Linked DNA regions of Homo sapiens: region 2 is linked to region 1. Evidence: promoter capture Hi-C in human tissues and cell types (Jung and others, 2019). All regions are on one chromosome and are shown on one strand. The core of a region is centred on a gene start or on the middle of the fragment in contact, and the rest is flanking DNA. Distances in the headings are between cores, read along the strand shown.

Evidence for each region. Contacts are between HindIII fragments. The study calls those that stand out against the background at their distance.
Region 2: a contact is called between a fragment that was not itself captured here and the fragment with the promoter of SOCS6 in region 1, in 1 of the 25 tissues and cell types used here (IMR-90 fibroblasts).

Annotation. Positions count from the first base shown.
Region 1 is chr18:70,286,412-70,291,096 of GRCh38, reverse strand. It overlaps SOCS6 (suppressor of cytokine signaling 6), which reads right to left and starts at 2,052. Exons shown (of 2, transcript NM_004232.4): 1 at 2,007-2,052. RefSeq lists a silencer at 1,317-2,216. The HindIII fragment of the contact is 14,867 bases long and covers 1-4,685 here.
Region 2 is chr18:70,154,703-70,159,387 of GRCh38, reverse strand. The region is part of intron 14 of RTTN (rotatin); the gene reads left to right. Among named protein-coding and RNA genes, the nearest start is that of RTTN, 49 kb to the left of the region's middle. The HindIII fragment of the contact is 9,830 bases long and covers 1-4,685 here.

The DNA of each region.
Region 1 (4,685 bases), core at 803-3,302:
AAGGGGGGCCATTAAAAGAACACCTTTTCCAGTTCTAATGCAAGAATGAAGAAAAACACTGGAAGGCAAAATGACTAGAAACCCAGTCAGTACAGCACCATTTTCCACCCTACGCCCAGTCAATGGCTCTCAAATTCCTTCCCTGCCACTCCCTGCGGGGTGGGGGGCCCACCAAGAGAGGGGGTCATGGGATGACCCGAGGGTGTGCGCTTGGGTGGGAGGCCCTGCTGAAGAGAAAGGGGCAAGACTACCAATTTAGAGGGTAATTTAGAAGATAACGATAAAGGTAAGAGAGAAACAGTGTTTCAAAAGAGATGCTGAATGGAGTTCTAAAAAAGTATAGATTCGGGTGAATACCTGGCTGACCCTTACCCAGGCACAAGCGGAAAGCCCTGGCCAAACTCCAGATAGAAGTTCTTCTAGGAATCCTTATCAAATCCACTGTCCACGAACCAGGTTCCTCCAAGGCACCAAGGCAGGCTTAGGGAGGGTGTTTGAACCAAAGGGTTAAGGCCACATATTTAATTTAGAGCTGAATGGATCCTAGACCTTACCATATCCACGCGTGCACAAAACCCACTAGGAGGAGAAATTAGAAAGCCCACGGAAAAGTATTACAGACTTTTTTTCCGGTTTTTGTGAAACCTGGTGAGCAATGCCATTCGTGTTTTTAAGTAAGGCTGTCCACAGCATTAAATATTACAATTAAGATTCGTTCATTCAAGTAAGCTAAATGGATTTAATGTTGTGGTAGTTGGTTAAAAACAAGTCAAGATAAATTGCTACCTTCAGTGGTTGAGAAGATGTCAGATATTTTATCTTGAAGTAGAACGTTTACTTTTGTTTGATTCCAAATGTATCTTTATCCCAAGGAACACAGTAAATTTAAAATGTCTCTGGGAGACGTTCAGTGTGTAATTCACGTTATTTCTGTCATTACTGTGTTCTCTGTCCTCATGCACAGTGCATGCTGCCTTATCCGGGCAGACGTTGCAGAAACATTTGTTGAAATGAATTCAACATTATTTATTTTGCTACCGGAAGACTGAGTCCCGCCACATATTCCCACCTGGCCCTTCATTCCAAACAGTGGGGATGGGAACCCCAATTTCACATTCCAACTGAACGTTAAGTTGGCACACACACTACTGCACATATCCCAAGTTTTGTGCCAGGATCTGCCCCTGAGAAACGTCCATAATTCTGCTCCGTGAGCCACAAGGGTGTACCTGAAGTTGCCAACTCCCGAAGCAAACTGAAAATTCAGGCCCGTGTCGGTCCCAGGAGCGGTTTAAATTCCACAATCGTCCGGTCCCTACACCCGGGTGAGTGCGCAGCCGGCCGGCGGCACCTTCAGCCGCAGAGCAGCCCCGGCCTGCACCTCCACCAGCGCCGGCGCGACCTCGCGGTGGGGCGGGGGCGTCCCCGAGTCCCAGCGCCGCGCCCCAGGCCCGCCCTCGCGCCTGCGGCCTCGCCGCGCCCCGACCCCGAGCCCGAGCCCGAGCCCGCGGAGGTCCGAGGAGGGACCCGGCCGGGGCGCAGAGCCGCGCAGGCCCCGCGCCGCTGCCCAGGCCTCGCGGAGCCCCGGCCTCTCCCCGGCGAGCTGCGGGCAACAAAGGCGGCGGCCCAGGCCGGCGCGCCGCGGCCGAAGAGGCCGAGGGGTCGAGAAGAGCCGTCCGCGGCCGCGCAGGCCTCGGCCCTTCAGGGGCCGCCGCGCCCCGGCCCCGGCTTCCCGGTTTCCGCGTCCCCGCTCCCGGGACTGGCCCCGGCCCCCGTTCCCCGGCCCTGGCCCCCGCCCGCGCACCCGCCGAGACGGCGCAGGGCCTCGCGCTGACCCAGACCCGTCGCTGCAGCCCCGCGCCCGGCGGCCTCCCTGGCCCGGCCCGCGCCGGATCCGCCCCCTGCACTCCGAGGCGAAAACCAGCCGTGTCCCGGACCGCGGGCGACCCGGAGGCGGACGGCGAAGCCCTGCCCCTGCCTCCCGCCCGAGCTCCCCGGACGCTTACCCGGAGGCGGCCCGGCTCCGCTTCCTCGCCCAGCGCCGGCGCGACTGCCGCGCTCGCCTTCTCCTCTCGGCAACTCCTCCTCCCGCCTCCTTCCTCCTCCTCCTCCAGGAGGGGCGCGCGGCCGCGGCGCCTCGGCCCGAGCGGGGAGCGGGTGCGGAGGAGCCGAGCGGGCCGCCCCCCGTCCACTACTCGGGCCCGCGGCGCAGGCGGGGCGTCGGGGCGCGCGGGGCTGAGGCCGGGGGCCGCGCGGGGCGGGGCGGGGGCCGGGCACTAAGTGGGGGTTCCGAGGGGAGGGGCGCCGGGCCGGGGTCGTGGGGCGGACGGAGCGCGGAGCCCTGATCCCTTCCCCCACCCCCGCGCCCCTCCGCTGGTGCCTGCAGGAGGCCGCTCCTCCGGCCCCCAGAGTCCCTGTCCTGGTTTTTCCTTTGGTGCTTTCCCTCTGGCGGGGGTGGCCCCGGCTAACGCGGAAAGGAAAGTCTCCTCGTTCCCCGGCCCCGCGGATTTGGCGGCTGCGGTCCCTGTCCCCCTGTGGCGGGCGGTCGGACCCCCGCACTGCCCAGGTCCGCTGGGCTCGCGCGGGGACCCCGGCCTCGTCCCCGCAGGGAGGGGACCCCAGGACAGACGCGCGCGCACGCTGTGCAGAGCCACAAGTGGGGAAACCCTCCCCACACCTCGACTAAATTGTGAAAAATGCTTTTTAAAAAACCAAACATTCCTTGTTTCAAGCCATCCACTTTTCCATTTAGTCGTTTTCAGGGAGGTTTTGTACAAGGAATAGTTGTTTGTGCCGCCGAATTCCAAGGTAGTGTGGTATACAAGTTGCATGTTGGGATCTTGACTAATTTCTTTGGAAACTGGCTGAACATACTACTAATGTATAGCAGTACCACAAAAACTTGATTTTTGTGCATAAGAATCAATAGGAAAATTTGTATTTCTCTTACGATGAAAAGTGGTTAAAAAAATGAATATCATTAGTATTTCAGTAAAGCTTGGGGGGAGATAAATATTAAAATCTAATGAGAATTATTGTGGACTTTAAAAGTTGTGTTTCTTGAATAGTATGGACCTTTTTAAAAGAAAACCGAAAGGACAGAGAAAAAAGGGCTAGAAAAAAAGTCTAAAAAGCTGTTCAGGTATGAGTTGGTACCCGAATTATATCTCAATAAAGTTGTTAGTTACAAAAAAGTTCAAGTCCAGTAATCTTAATTCCTATGTCCAATATACAATCTGGATTTCCCCAAGAAATCTAGATTCATAACAGAAAAGTTGGATCTTTAGGTGATGCAAAGTTGATGTCATGTATCATACACTATCATTGTCATCTTCAGTTTTTACTTGAATTTATTAATAAAATACTACCATTATTGTTACCGTGATTGAAATGCAACACAATTCTCAAATATCTAATTACAGTGATTGGAGAATGTAGGTTGAAATAGAATTGTCAGAGAAGTTAGTGGGAAACACAACAAACAGTAATTAACGGTGGCTCATGCCTGTAATCCCAGCACTTTGGGAGGCCGAGGCGGGCGGATCACAAGATCAGGAGATCGAGACCTGCCTGGCCAACACAGTGAAACCCCATCTCTACTAAAAATACAAAAAGTAGCTGGGCGTGGTGGCAGCTGCCTGTAATCCCAGCTACTCAGGAGGCTGAGGCAGGAGAATCGTTTGAACCCGGGAGGCGGAGGTTGCAGTAAGCCGAGATCGCACCACTGCACTCCAGCCTGGGTGACAGAGCTAGATGCCGTCTCAAAAAAAAAAAAAAGAAAAGAAGCAAACGTTTCAATCCTACTGCCTCGGAGTTCCAGTGTCTCCCTATATTTTCTAAAATGACAACCAGTAGGAGCTGTGCAGCAGGGGGTTAGTGAGCCTTTCACGCAGCAATGGGGCTGTGCAGGATGGGGAAGTGTTGACTCTTTTAGGAGACACTTAAATGTATGGTTAAGACCCTGGGGTTCTGAGTCTGGCAGAGCTGGTGCAGAAGCACAGTTTTGACAGGTCATACAGCTGTGTGACCTCAAACAAGTTTCTCAGTTGGAACCTCAGTTTCTACTTTTGTAAAGGGTGAGTGAGGGGGCTCGATATTAATTATGTCAAATAGTTGTAAGATTACATGAAATAATGCACAAAAACCCCTAGGGGCCTAATCTAGGTAATAAAACTTCATGAGTCCGGCCTTGCATTCAGCTCTTTTGAATATGTCATATCCTTCAATTTTCATATCAATCCTATAAGGTCAGTATTAACATCACCGCCATATTTCTGATGAGGAAACTGAGACTTGCAGTGTGATAGTAGTAATTTACTCTCCCAAAGTCACAGCTACTGTGGGGCAGAGTTGGAATTCAGGCTTAGGCCTCTGTGATTTCAGAATATGAGCCCTTTACCACTACATAGTGATAACAATAACATAGCAACAACTTCAGGGTAGAGATATTAGTGTCTAGATATACTATTAAAATCTCCATGCATGGCTGAATTCCAAACACTTCTTGGCCATAAACATGTGATATCTTCTTGGCTGTCTGCCAATGAACCCTTTTTTCCATCAGCACTCACTCTCCGTTTGGAGGAAATCTTATCTTTGCCCTAACAACACCCAGCACAGCTAAGATATGTGCCCATGACTCACCTACTTAAACTCTTGCCTAGGCCAGACAGGGAGGCTTACAC
Region 2 (4,685 bases), core at 1,169-3,668, 130 kb after region 1:
GTTTCAAAGAATTTTATGATTTCTGCCTTAATTTCATTCTTTACTCAAAAGTCATTCAGGTGCAGGTTGTTTAAGTTCCCTGTAATTGTATCATTTTTGAGAGATCTTCTTGGTAATAATTTCTATTTTTATTGCACTGTGGCCTGAGAGTGTGGTTGGTATGATTTCGGTTTTCTTGAATTTGTTGAGAATTGCTTTACAGCTGAGTGTGTGGTTGATCTTAGAGTGTGTGCTGTGTGCAGATGAGAAGAATGTGTTTTGCTTTTGTTGAGTGGAGTACTCTGTAGAGTCTCCTAGGTCCATTTGGTCAGGTGTCGAGTTTAGGTCCCAACTATTTTTGTTAGTTTTCTGCCTCAGTGATTTGTCTAACACTGTCAGTGGGGTGTTGAAGTCTCCCACTATTATTTTGTGGTTGTCTAAAACTCTGTAGGTCTCTAAGAACTTGTTTTATGACTGGGTGCTCCAATGCTGGGTGCATTATATTTAGGATAGTTAAATCTTCTTGTTGAATTGAACCCTTTATCATTATGTAATGCCTTTCTTTATCCTTTTGATCATTGTTGGTTTAAAGTCTGTTTTGTCTGAAATAAGAAGAGCAACTCCTGCTCTTTTTTTGTTTTCTGTTTGCTGGATAGATCTTTATCTCCATTCTATTACTTTGAGCATGTGGGTGTCACTGCATGTGAGTTGGGTCTCTTGACAGCATATAGTTGGGTCTTGGTTCTTTATCCAGCTTGCCACTCTGTGCTTTTTAAGTGGGGTGTTTAGCCCGTTTATGTTCAAGGTCAGTATTGATATGTGAGGATTTGATTCTGTCGCCATGTTGCTAGCTGGTTGTTACGTAGACTTGATTGTATAGTTGCATCATAGTGTCAGTGGGAGATGTATTTTAGTGTGTTTTTGTGGAGGCAGGTAATGGTCTTTTGCTTCCTTTTTTAGCACTCCATTGAGGACCCCTTGTAAGTCAGGTCTCATGGTAATGAATTCCCTGAGCGTTTGCTTCTCTGAAAATAATTTTGTTTTTCCTTTGCTTATGAAGCTTAGCTTGGCTGGATATGAAATACTTGGTTTGAATTTCTTTAAGCATGCTGATTATAGGTCCCCAATCTTTTCTGGCTTGTAAGGTTTCTGCTGAAAGGTCTGCTGTTAGCCTGATGGAGTTCTTTTTATATGTGACCTGCTCTTTCTTTCTAGCTTCCTTTTAAGATTTTTTCTTTCCTGTTGACCTTGGAGAATCTGATGACTATGTGTCTTGGGGGTGGTCATCTTGAATAGTATCTCACTGGGGTTCTCTGAGTTTCCTGAATTTGCTTATTGACCTGCCTAGTGAGGTTGGAGAAATTTTCGTGGAAAATATCCACAAATATGCCTTCCAAGTTGCTTGCTCTCTCTCCTTCTCTTTCTGGAATGCTGATGGGTGTTAGGTTCGTTTTGTTTACATAATCCCATATTTCTTGAAGTTTTTTTTTTTAATTCTTTTTTCTTTATTTCTGTTTGCCTGTGATGATTCAAAGGAGTAGTCTTTGAGCTCTGAGATTTTTTTCCTCAGTTATGTTATTAATGCTTCCAATTGCATTATGAAATTCCTATCATGAAATTTTTGTTTCCAGAAGTTCAGTTTTGTTCTTACTTAAAATGTTTGTGTCAGATCCAATCATGGATCAAACCACCATTTTACTGGTTTCCATGGGTGGGGCTTCAGCCTTCTTCTATATCTTGTCGAGCTTCCTTGCCTTCCAGCTTCTGAATTCTGTCATTTTAGCCATTTCAGTTTGGTTAAGAACGATTGCTGGGGAGCTAGTGTGGTTATTTGAAAATAAGAAGACATTCTGGCTTTTAGAATTGCCAGAATTCTTACACTGTTTTTTTCTTACCTGTGTGGGCAGATGTTCCTTTAATCTTTGAAGTTGCTGTACTTTGGATGGGGCCTTTTGCTTTTATATTATTTGATGCCATTGAGGATTTTACTGTGGTATAAGTTGGGATTAGTCAATTGGCTTGGTTTCTGTGTGCTTTCAGGGCCAGAGCTCAGCTCAGCACCCCTGGGCTGTGTGCTCTAACCCTGGGGGTGCACTGAACAGGCCAGTGGCTTTGATTTCTGGTCCCTTGAGGTCAAGCATCTGCTGCACTGGAGGAGCCGAGATGTTCCCAGACTGCTGGCAACAACTTTCCGATGGTGACTGCCCGAGAAAGTGCTCTGGGGGGGCGTGGGGCGGTGCTTTGGGAGAGTGCACTTGTGGTGGGGGTAACCATGGGCAAGTGCGCACTGGCAGGGGAGGCTGCAGGCAAGTGCACACCAGTAGGTATTGGCTGTGGGTGGGTGTGTGCTTGCAAAAGCGCTCTGACAGGAAGGCAGAGGCTGTTGGCAAAAGACCTATGGGGTGGCTGTTGGGGAGCATTTCGGCAGGGCAGCTGAGGCTGTGTTGCAAGCTAGTGAGACAGACAGGACCCTTTGAGAGGCTGGCAGACAGGGTGGCATTCAGATCAGGTTGGCCCAGTCTTGTGGGAAAGATAGCCCTGCTCTTTCTACTTCTGGCAGCGAACTAAGGCTAAAGCCACCTAGAGGAGTATATCAAGATTTGGGTGATGGGCACCTATCAGGGAACCTGCCCCAATAGTCACGTAGTTTCTTTTCTGTTTTCCCTAAGTGTCGGCTGGGTTGGGAAATAAAGGGACAGAGTACAAAAGAGGGAAATTTTAAAGCTGGGCGTCCGGGGGAGACATCACATGTCGGTGGGTTCCGTGATGTCCCACAAGCTGCAAAACCAGCAAGTTTTTATTAGGGACTTTCAAAAGGGGAGGGAGTGTACAAATAGGGTGTGGGTCACAAAAATCACGTGCTTCACAAGGTAATAGAATATCACAAGGCAAATGGAGGCAGGGCGAGATCATAGGACCGCAGGACCGCAGGCAAAATTAAAATTGCTAATGAAGTTTTGGGCACCATTGTCATTGATAACATCTTATCAGTAGACAGGGTTTGAGAGCAACCGGTCTGACCAAAATTTATTAGATGGGAATTTCCTCTTCCTAGTAAGCCTGGGAGCGCTATGGGAGACTGGGGCTTATTTCACCCCTACAGTCTCGACCATAGAAGACGGCCACACCCAAGGGGGCCATTTTAGAGACCCACCTTCAAGGGCACATTCTCTTTCTCAGGGATGTTCCTTGCTGAGAAAAAGAATTCAGTGATATTTCTCCCATTAGCTTTTGAAAGAAGAGAAATATGGCTCTGTTCCACCCGGCTCACCGGCAGTCAGAGTTTAAGGTGATCTCTCTTGTTCCCTGAACGTTGCTGTTATTCTGTTCTTTTTTCAAGGATCCCAGATTTCATATTGTTCAAACACACATGCTCTACAATTTGTGCAGTTAACGCAATCATCACAGGGTCCTGAGGCGACATACATCCTCCTCAGCTTACGAGATGACAGGATTAAGAGATTAAAGTAAAGACAGGCATAGGAAATCACAAGCGTATTTATTGGGGAAGTGATAAGTGTCCATGAAATCTTCACAATTTATGTTTAGAGATTGCAGTAAAGACAGGCATAAGAAATTATAAAAGTATTAATTTGGAGAACTAATAAATGTCCATGAAATCTTCACAATCCACATTCTTCTCCCATGGCTTCAGCCGGTCCCTCCGTTCGGGGTCCCTGACTTCCCGCAACAGGCACCTATGGCCATGCCCCATTGCAGCCATTACTGCGCCAGACCCTCTGGGCTCTGTGCAGACTGGCATTCTGTCTCTGGCAACTCATTGGGCAGTTCTCCCTTGCAACTCAAAGGTCTGTGCAGGTCATGGGGTCTCCCATAGTTAGGATCCTAGAGGATCGTTGCAAGAGTGGGCTGCTCCATGCCTGTTGCACTTGCCACTTCCCTAAGAGCTGCTCAAGGCCAGGAACAAGTCCTCTAGTTTCTTCTTTTGTGTTGTTGTGAATTTTAAACATATTTATTTTATAATCTTGTTTAGATTATGGTATTAGAATCCTCCCACTTGTTATGGCTATTGAATCTTCCTTATGTTGTTTATTTTAGCAGATACTGTTATTTTGATTTTCAGGTCTTCTTTGGCAGGGTAGCTTTTTCTTGTGATCTTGTATTCTCTAGATGGTGGTTGTATATTTGTTTCTGCCTTGCCTTTAGGGATTTGACAGTTAGTGGTGATGCACCTTGGAAGGGGTTTGTAATGAAGTTACATTTTCATTTGTGTATGTTGAAATAATAAAAAGAATCAGAGGAGGAAAGATTGAAGATAGTGGGTAGCAAGTAGCTAATTAAAAGAAGCTAGTGCCTTTGAAAGTTGAAGGCGGTGGGACCTTGAACATGATGGCTAATTGGGGTTAGGTGGGCTTAGATATCACAGGAAGTTGCAGGAGCCTCCTTCTATTGAGTCTGTATTTTCTTTGAGATTGAAAGTGAGATGTTGAATGTGTGAAATGACTAATATGAGTAGATATTTGATAATATCAAATAGTAGCATTTTTGGGCTGCATGAAGAGCTTAGTCAATTGTGTCTATAATCTTAATAGGGAGACTCTTCTACTTTGCATGTTTATCTTTGGCTAGCTGGTGTGGTTTCTGGGAATGTGAACCTTGCGATCAATCAAGGGTTGAGTTATTTCATTGCTGTCGGGGAGGAGGGAATGCCTGTGGTGCAAGTGAGCTGAGTAGTTGAAATGACA